Linked DNA regions of Homo sapiens: region 2 is linked to region 1. Evidence: promoter capture Hi-C in 16 types of primary human blood cells and fetal thymus (Javierre and others, 2016). All regions are on one chromosome and are shown on one strand. Each heading gives the region's core, a stretch centred on a gene start or on the middle of the fragment in contact. The rest is flanking DNA. Distances are from core to core; before and after follow the strand shown. Region 1 holds the start of KRT72 (keratin 72). Region 2 holds the start of KRT1 (keratin 1).

Region 1 (4,565 bases), core at 1,434-3,933:
TGGGTTTCCCATTTACCCCTTACCCCCACACATGCATAGCCTCCTTCCTTATCAACATCTCCCACCATAGGGGTACATTTGTTACAACTGATGAACTTACACTTATGCAGCATTATCACCTCAAGTCCCTGGTTTACACTGGTGTTCACTGGGAAGTCTGTGGGTTTGGACAAATGTATAATGACATGTAGTCATCATTACAGTACTGTACAGAATAGTTCACTGCCCTAAAATTGCTCTAGCACTAAGCATGTTAATGGGCCTAGAAAGTCCTGCAATAAGATGCCTGCTTCATTTTTTTTTAAACCAAGCACAGAATCCATTCCCATATCTTTTTTTCCCATGATACCTATTAACTTCCCAAGAAGTAGTGTTACAGGGCAAGGAGACCCAGTTTAACCAGCAATGCATTTTCAATTCTCAGCCTAGAGTGGTTTCATCCGTCTTTTGTAGTAAAGATCTGATTTCTAAGGGCAATGTTCCTTGTCTGGTTTACTAATCCAGGGGTTGCTTTAACCCAAGAACTAATGACAGAGGTGGTCACCAAGGCCTGAGGTGACACCGTAAGCTGCTGTCAGAGGCAGAGGCAATGAGAACCCCTCCTCCCAGGCCTCAACCCCCTTTGATCTGCTGACATCCCCACACATCTGAGGCCTTTGAAATCTGCATGTGTCACTTGTGTCTCCTCATGATCTGTAATAAAGGTGATTCAGGGGTTGAGGAATTCCTTATTCATCCAGCCAGTCAACCCCTCATAGGAAGATGAGAAAAGGTCATCTTACAGTTCCCTAACCCTGGGCAGAAGAGCCCTGGTCCCAGGATATCTCAACTCCTTAGAAAATTTCTAGGAAGAAAAAAAAAATTATTTCAAAGACACCCTTTGTCAGTCAATCCTACGTAAAAATTCTCCTCTTTCAGTGTAATCCATTCCTTGCTTTTCTATTCTCAATGGCTGGAATAAATAAATTCATTTTTGTGCTTGTGGAAAAAAAACTGGCTAAAATTACGGGGTAGAGGGAAAATCTCATGTAATAATAAAAAACATAACCTTGATCTTCTTGAAGGGTCTGCTGTCACCCAGCCACACTGACACTGCCCTTCTCCTCTTCAGAGGGAAGGGACTACAGCCCCTCCTCTGAGGCAGCACTGAGAGCCCACCCTCTCTCCCACCTAGGACACCCAGATGCCGTTATCTGTTCATCTGTGATCGGTGCCATCTCCAGCGCTTAACAATGCCCTCACAACTTTGTTCCCCGTGGAGTAAACGCTTCGGCTGTTATTATGTCCTGTCATTGGCCCAGTGGAGGCTATGTCAGCCAATTACCCCCAGGTACCATTTAACCAACCCATGAGGTCCCCAAGGGGAACCCAGCCTTCAGGGTATCACTGAAGGTGCAGTAACAAGCCTTGCCCTAAGCACTCTGCTGTTTCACAATCATCCTAAATGTCCCTTTGGCCAAGGCCTGGGCTGAGCACTGGGGGAGCAGAGGAGGGAAGGGTGAATCCAGGGGGCCCTGTCAATCTGATAGAGGAAATGGAACACACACCCAGGACTCTGGCAGCTTAAGAAATAAGAGCAATGAAATAATCCCACCTGCATGCCAGAGGAACAGGAGAGCTGTTGCTAAGAGAGGAGGAGACTTGAAGGCAGCTTAAGTTTGAGAAAAGGAAATCGGGTTAGGTGGAAGAAGGAGCCTCTGTAGCTTAAAGGGAATGAAGTTCTAGAATCTAGTTCTTGGTTTTAGATCTGAAGAGTCTTGACCTCTTCCTAATAACTGATCACATTTTGATGCTGAATCAGAAATGACTGGGTGGCAAATGACCTGAGCAGAGGTTTGCTGGATGGGATAAATAAGCCTCTTCTGCTATTAAAAGAAAACAAAAATGAAAACAACCGAAAGCCTTAGGAAACACCATCTGCTAAACCATGCCTGAGTCTTCCTGTACCACCTCCCCAGGCCTTCTTCCCTCCCTCCCAGATAGCATGGTCCCCATTCTTAGTCCAGAAATGCTTAGTGGAGAAATCTTTTCGCTCTGGTCCAAAGTCAACCCTCAACACTTGTGACCAGAGGTCTCTGTGTCCTGCCTTCTCCAACAGACTGAGAGGTCTCTGCAGACGGGGCCAAAATCTCCTCCTTCTGAACTTCCTTCTTGCACAAGGGACAGAGCTGTCCTCATCCAGAAGCCTGGGAGGCAGGAGGAGGACAGGCTAAGGATGATTTTCTGCGATAGTCTTGACTCTATTCATGGCCTTCTGAAGCAGAAGCAGCCTGGACTTCTGCTTCACACACCTCCGTCTCCCCAGACACACACCCAGAGGGTCAGCCCCACTGGAAGTTTCCAGGGGTGATCTTGGGAGTGATAACCCCAGTAATTGGAGGCCAGCAGGTGGAGATAAGGTCGCTAAGCCATGATAATGCAGGAGGTGAGCCAAGTAAATGCTGGGTTCTGGGTCACTTTACAGGGATTCATGGGGAGTTCACGGTGGAACAGACAAAAATCTCGGTGAGTGCATGGTAATTTCCTACATGAAGAACCCAAGAGGCCTCAAGGGATCTAAAAGGTGTTGTCGACATACAAATTAGGCTGACTCCAGCCAGCCAGGCTATTTAAGGGGCGAGCTGGGCCGAGAACGCAGCGGCTGTTTGCGCCCCTTCTGCCTCCCGCGCGGCCAGCACCGGTACTTGCGAGCCATGAGCCGCCAACTGACCCATTTCCCCCGCGGGGAGCGCCTGGGCTTCAGCGGTTGCTCCGCGGTCCTCTCTGGCGGGATCGGCAGCAGCTCCGCCTCATTCCGGGCCCGGGTCAAGGGCTCGGCCTCCTTTGGCAGCAAGAGCCTCTCCTGCCTTGGGGGCAGCCGAAGCCTGGCGCTCAGCGCTGCTGCACGGCGGGGCGGCGGCCGCCTGGGCGGCTTCGTGGGCACCGCCTTCGGCAGCGCCGGGCTGGGGCCCAAGTGTCCCTCCGTGTGCCCACCCGGGGGCATCCCTCAGGTCACCGTCAACAAGAGCCTCCTGGCCCCGCTCAACGTGGAGATGGACCCCGAGATCCAGAGGGTGCGCGCCCAGGAGCGGGAGCAGATCAAGGCGCTAAACAACAAGTTCGCCTCCTTCATCGACAAGGTGAGTCCTCGGGCATTGGCCTGTCCCTGCGTTGGGCGCATGTGCACAGTGGTGCTGGCTCTGCCACTGGCGAGCTGTGTGGGAGCGTGGGCGGGTCATAACCTCTCCGAGCCTCCCTTTTCCATTTGTAAAATGGGCACAATAATGGGTCTTACTCCAGTGGGTTGCGATGAGGCTTAATTGGGATGTTTACGAAGTGCTCAGAACAGTGCCTGGCACATACTTCCAATAAACAGGATGTATTAGCCCATTTTCATGCTGCTGATAAAGACATACCCGAGACTGGGAAAAAAAAAAAGAGGTTTCATTGGACTTACAGTTCTCCATGGCTGGGGAGGTCTCAGAATCATAACGGGAGGCCAAAGTCACGTCTTATATGGCGGCGGCCAGAGAAAAATGAGGCAGAAGCAAAAACGGAAACCCCTGATAAACGCATCAGATCTCGTGATACTTATTCACTATTAGGAGAATAGCAGGAGAAAGACCGGCCCCTATGATTCATTTACCTCCCCCCTGGGTCCCTCCCACAACACGTGGGAATTCTGGGAGACTTAATTCAAGTTGAGATTTGGGTGGGGACACAGCCAAAACGTATCAAGGACCTTCATTTCTTTCTTGCATGAGACAAGACTGTGAGAAGGGAGGGGTCAGGATGTCCAAGGAATGGGCACTTTGAGAGCTCCCAATATCAGAAGAGGAGATGGGACCCACATTCAGGGCAGGGCATTAGGAACAGAGGCCAAGAGACGTTGCAGGACATGGTGCTTGGTGCTTGAGGAGTGGGGTAAGTGTGTAGCCAGGAAGATGATAGAGGAGGTGAGAGAAAAGGGCCAGAAAACTGAAGGGTGAGGCTGAGGAGGCACTTGGAAAGAGTGCATGTAAAGTTACAGGTGTGTGCTGAGGGTGGGGCATCCAGAAATTGGGGTAATAGGGAAGTTGTCTCTGGAGCTTCTGAGGCAATGACCCCAGTGAGTGGAGAGGAGACAGGGAATGGACTTCTCTTGTCTCCACCTGGATGGAAGGTCTAGACGGTGAGTGATAAGGGGACAGCCTGATAACAATAGCTGACATTTATGGTGCCGTCCCAAGTGATTCTCATTTACAATCACAACCCATGATTCTGTTGTTGTTCTGCCTTGCAGATGAGGATATTAAGACATGGGAGGCTAAGAAATGAGCTCACCTTGGACAGGACAGTTGGTGGTGGACCGAGTGTCACCACTATGCTAGGGAAGAGGAATTGAGGTGGCGGGAGGGCACAGGTCTGCATGGAAGAAACACAGCAGCTATTCCAGAGGCCAGAGCATTCTCTTGCTCTTTTATGTCTGTTGTTCCCTAGCATGTTTCCTTCTGCCCCTCAAGCTGAAAGATAGGTGAGAAGAGGAATGCTGGTGTGTGGCAGAGGGCTTGGAGTTATTGAGTCTAAAAATGTGCACCCTGGTCAAG
Region 2 (5,144 bases), core at 1,907-4,406, 79 kb before region 1:
TCCTAACAGCATAGTTGCTGCCTGTAGATGTTAGTGTCTCTTTCTTTCTCATTTTGTCTTTATTTCATAAATGCACAGTACATAAGTAAGCCAGGAGAGAGTGTGTGGCTCACACCTTTCCTGCATGTGGTTCTTCATATCCCACACACCCACACTGATCCTGGGGACATCACAGGAGATGACGGGCCTGGTCTGGCAGCACTGCAGCTCCAGCTCTGTTGGGCTGCCTCGAAAGTGGGCAGTGGAAAAAGAAAAGGAGTTTGATTCAACAATTGGAAGAGTCTCAGGAATTGACTTATGACTTGGACACTTTTTTTTTTTTTTTTTTTTTTTTTTACTTTTTTGGGCCTGTGCTCTCACTTCTCTGTGAGGCAGGTTAGATGATGTGACCTTTGAGGCCCCATGGATGAGAACATTCTGTAATTCTCTGTGTACTTGTTTATAGGGCCCAGTTCCACTTGCCTGTCTTTGAGCCTCTTCCCGGTTCAGGGAGGAATGTCACTTGAATTGAAATCAGAAAACCCAGATTCTGCTTCCAGATGTGTCTTTTCCTAGCCGGAGTGTCTAGAGGAAGCCACTTAATCTCTGAGAATCAGTTTTCTGTTTCATGAAATGGGTTGAGAACAGCTTGATTGCCTAGTTCTCAGGGCTCTTGTGGGATGCTCTTTGCATATGTGTTTGGTGGGGTGAGCTGTGCAAATGTAAGCTATGGTGAGGTTTATGGCACTTATTCCTGCTAGTCCTGCATTTCTCCCTTCTCACAGGAGCACCTGGGGTATGTTTTGCAGCTAAGTTGTCTACCAATTCCCTGACCATTCATTCAAACCTTTGATTTTTCTGTATGTCAGTTTCTTAGTTCAAAGATGGGAGTGTGGATCACTGCCAAGGTCTGTTTTTGGCTGGCACACACATGCACACAAACATGTGTGCACACAAACATGTGTGCACACACATACTCACACCCCTCCAAAATGCTAGAAGGAATCGATTGTGCAGAACAATATGTCTCATGAGGGAGTATGCTGAACTAAAATAATTTTGATTGCTTGTCAGAAAATGATTAGGCAACAGTCATTACCATGCCAAGACTGTCCCAGTCTCCATTGTTCCTAACAAGACCTGAATTACTCATTCCCTAAAGAGATGGTTGGTTTAGCAGCCGAAGGATTTTAGTGCTAGGACAGAGTCCCAGACAGCAGTGCCACAGTGATGGCGAGGGAGAGGAGTAGCAGGGGAGCGGTGAGGGGCACTTTCTGGAGGAGGGTATAGGGCAAAAACTGGGAGGAGAAGAGGGACAAGGTTCAATAGCGGAGTGCAATGGAGAGGACCGACACAGCCAGCCCGATTCAGAGCCACAGAGTAATGGGACCAGATGATCTTCACAGACTCCCTTTCTCCCATAGATCTTGCACACCATAGTGGAGACTTCCCATGTACATCTATGGTTTGCCACTTACAGAGTTACTTGGAGCCAGCTGAAGTTAGAGCTGGCTTCTCCCCTTTGAGTCTTCAATTCTGTGTTTATGTGCAGGCCCGGGGACCATGCCAGGCTTCTAAGAAGTCTTCGAATGAAAGTCTGCTTGGGCTTCTAGTGTGTCCAGATCTCAGTGCCACTATTATCCACTGATATTGATCAAGTGCTGCTCTCCAGGAAGACCCCTGAGGTTTCCTGGTCCATTGCAATGCATGCTGGGTACTCTTGCACTTGGATGGAAGTAAAATCTCCTCACTAAACTCTGTGCCACCAAAATCTCCTTCTCAGTGTGAATTGAAGAAACATTTTCCAAGACTTGCATGTGCCAGGAGCCAAGGACTCAGAGTGATAAAACAGGCCTTCTGCCCTCAGAGCTCTCTGTGGTGGGGCGCTTCCTGTGCTGTCTGGCTTTACACACAGCAGGCAGAATGACTTGAATTCGGCTGCTGTGCTGTCGTACAACATGCTGTTTAGGATCTTGCACATGATAGCTAGGTATTCTTGCTTCAAATCGCAGGCACCCCACTTACCAACTGTGTAGACTTGATCACGTTATTCAACCCCTGTGTCTCTGCTTCCTCATTTTACAAATGGGGAGAAAAATAGCATCTATCTCAAAGTTGTGAAAATTAAGCAAGTTAATACATATGTGCTACGTAGAACAGTGCCTGGTACATGGTCAGTTTTTGATACATGTTAGGTATTATCATTATTATCACCTCCAGAAACAATTTAAACTTCTCATATAAGGCTCTCCAGACACCTCTCATTGTCTTCCCTTCCAAATCTGCATTTATCTCTCTCTCTTTGCAGTCCAGTGTGAGGCTTGAATCACCTATCAAGCCTCACCTCCACCCCTGTGCTTTACAAAATGTCCTAGAGCTTCTATTTACTCGTCTCACTGCTCTGTGGGCTTTTTCACTCAAGGGCGTTTGCATGCTATCCATTGCTACCTGTTTTCTATTGCTGGTGTCTGTCTCCTGCTCTATCTTTGAAGAAAAGAAACAAGAAAAGGAATAACTGAGAAACAGAGAAAAAAAATGTCTCTCCCTTCTGGTTCTTCCAGACCACCCACTCATCCATCTTGTTCAATGACAGCTTCTCTTCCTTTAATTAATCACTGTGGTATATTTATAAAGCTTATATTTATGAAAGACCTTTTAATTTTTTAGTTATTAAAGCCCTTTCTCTTTGTCAGGTTGTAACTGAGTGAGCTCTGGAGTTTGGAAAGAAGATCTTAGAAATGGGCCAGAGAGCTCCTTCTGAGATCCAAGCACGGGGAATTGCACCTGCTGTGCATGGTAAGAGAGTGTGCTTGGTAGCTCACAAAGGCAAGGTGAGAATAGAAACTTTCATGCCTTTTTGATGGGGGTTATGAAATCCTACCAAGAAACACCAGGTATCAGATGTGGGGTCCTGTTTTCCCAAAGCCACAAATGCTTGAAGGAAGATCTTGTGTGATAAAATAATTACCACATGAACCAATCTTGCATGCACAGCAATTTTGAGAGCCCATCCTGGGAGCTAGGTGTGTAGTGTTTATCGTATTGTTGAGGCTCGTAAAAATCTTGTATGGCTGCAGGCAAGCCAAACCCTTGACAGGCACTGCATCTCCGCTGACTCTAGAAGACCAAGCCCAATTTCTTCCCTGTATATAAGGGGAAGTCTCTATGCTTGGGGTAGAGGAGTGTTTAGCTCCTTCCCTTACTCTACCTTGCTCCTACTTTTCTCTAAGTCAACATGAGTCGACAGTTTAGTTCCAGGTCTGGGTACCGAAGTGGAGGGGGCTTCAGCTCTGGCTCTGCTGGGATCATCAACTACCAGCGCAGGACCACCAGCAGCTCCACACGCCGCAGTGGAGGAGGTGGTGGGAGATTTTCAAGCTGTGGTGGTGGTGGTGGTAGCTTTGGTGCTGGTGGTGGATTTGGAAGTCGGAGTCTTGTTAACCTTGGTGGCAGTAAAAGCATCTCCATAAGTGTGGCTAGAGGAGGTGGACGTGGTAGTGGCTTTGGTGGTGGTTATGGTGGTGGTGGCTTTGGTGGTGGTGGCTTTGGTGGTGGTGGCTTTGGTGGAGGTGGCATTGGGGGTGGTGGCTTTGGTGGTTTTGGCAGTGGTGGTGGTGGTTTTGGTGGAGGTGGCTTTGGGGGTGGTGGATATGGGGGTGGTTATGGTCCTGTCTGCCCTCCTGGTGGCATACAAGAAGTCACTATCAACCAGAGCCTTCTTCAGCCCCTCAATGTGGAGATTGACCCTGAGATCCAAAAGGTGAAGTCTCGAGAAAGGGAGCAAATCAAGTCACTCAACAACCAATTTGCCTCCTTCATTGACAAGGTGAGTTTCTCTCTCATTGCACTGGTAGGGCTGCCGCTGGTCCACTTGGGATTGGTGCAGTCAAAACACAGTAGGTTTGAACCTCAAGTTTCCATGTTTACATGATTAAAAGGATGTTTTGTGGAATGGTCTCCTAGGAGATATGTTAGATGTATGCTTGTGAATGGTGTTAATGACTCTCTCTTTGACAAAGGGTTCGTGGTCGACCTAAAGGTGGGTCAGTGTGACATTAACATTTAAGTGCTTTTTATTCAGCTCTTGAGCGGAATTGGGACTCATATCTGTTGAATGAAGATAATAGAAATGGGGCTAACTGAACTTTCCAGGGTGCAAGTGAGAACCCTGGAAAGGTCTTCCTAACCATAGAAAGGGAGTTGAGTGTGAACATAGTATAGAGTGTTATTGTAGCAGAAAACATGTGGTCAGTCAGTGCCAAACATCTTTTGCTGTCAGAGGGGAGCTCTGCCTTCTAATAATTTTACATTGGTACTGGATGAGGCTAGAGTTTTTTTATACTAATATCTCCAAAAATCAGCTCTAAAAAACTCAGATAAACCATTTTTTTAATTTTTTGCTTAATCATTAATAGTGCCAATCCAAGGTTATCCACAACAAATTTCAAATCCAATTTTGAATTTTCCTGATATACTTTTGAAATGTGTGTGTGTCCTGGGGATGCAAACCAGTTTTTATGGTAATATACCTAACAAAATTTTGGAAGGCAAATCTCTTAAATACCATGCACCTATTTCAAAACATAATTGCAATAATTCTGTATGCGCTTTGCTATTGGTATTTGTTTAGTTACTCCCTTCCAAGCCCTCTCTGAATTAACAAGTTGGGTTTTATTATGCAGATGATATTAACTTGATCATCTTCTTCCTATTTCTCTGTCATGGTCAGAAGATAGGAATTGAGGTTCTTTTCCAAATGAGGCACAGTTCTCCATGGCTATGAGACTCCATTTATGCATCAGGAGTAAAGGGGTCTTGTGTTTTTAGGTGAGGTTCCTGGAGCAGCAGAACCAGGTACTGCAAACAAAATGGGAGCTGCTGCAGCAGGTAGATACCTCCACTAGAACCCATAATTTAGAGCCCTACTTTGAGTCATTCATCAACAATCTCCGAAGGAGAGTGGACCAACTGAAGAGTGATCAATCTCGGTTGGATTCGGAACTGAAGAACATGCAGGACATGGTGGAGGATTACCGGAACAAGTAAGGGACCCTGTCTGGGCAGTTCTTAACTTTTGCTGTAAAAGAGTTCCAGAAAGTAATAAGCTAAGATCATGAAGCAGCATGTAGCTATGTCTTTTCTTAGGTTAGAGGCACATCAGTTTG

The links. The method cuts DNA at HindIII sites, captures the fragments that hold promoters and counts their contacts. A CHiCAGO score of 5 or more calls a contact.
Region 2: a contact is called between the fragment with the promoter of KRT1 here and the fragment with the promoter of KRT72 in region 1, in 1 of 17 cell types (erythroblasts). The highest score is 5.7, in erythroblasts.

What each region holds. Positions count from the first base shown.
Region 1 is chr12:52,599,581-52,604,145 of GRCh38, reverse strand. It overlaps KRT72 (keratin 72), which reads left to right and starts at 2,683. Exons shown (of 9, transcript NM_080747.3): 1 at 2,683-3,119. The coding sequence starts at 2,694. The HindIII fragment of the contact is 8,078 bases long and covers 1-4,565 here.
Region 2 is chr12:52,678,419-52,683,562 of GRCh38, reverse strand. KRT1 (keratin 1) reads left to right here and starts at 3,156. Exons shown (of 9, transcript NM_006121.4): 1 at 3,156-3,805; 2 at 4,807-5,021. The coding sequence starts at 3,215. The HindIII fragment of the contact is 12,025 bases long and covers 2,616-5,144 here.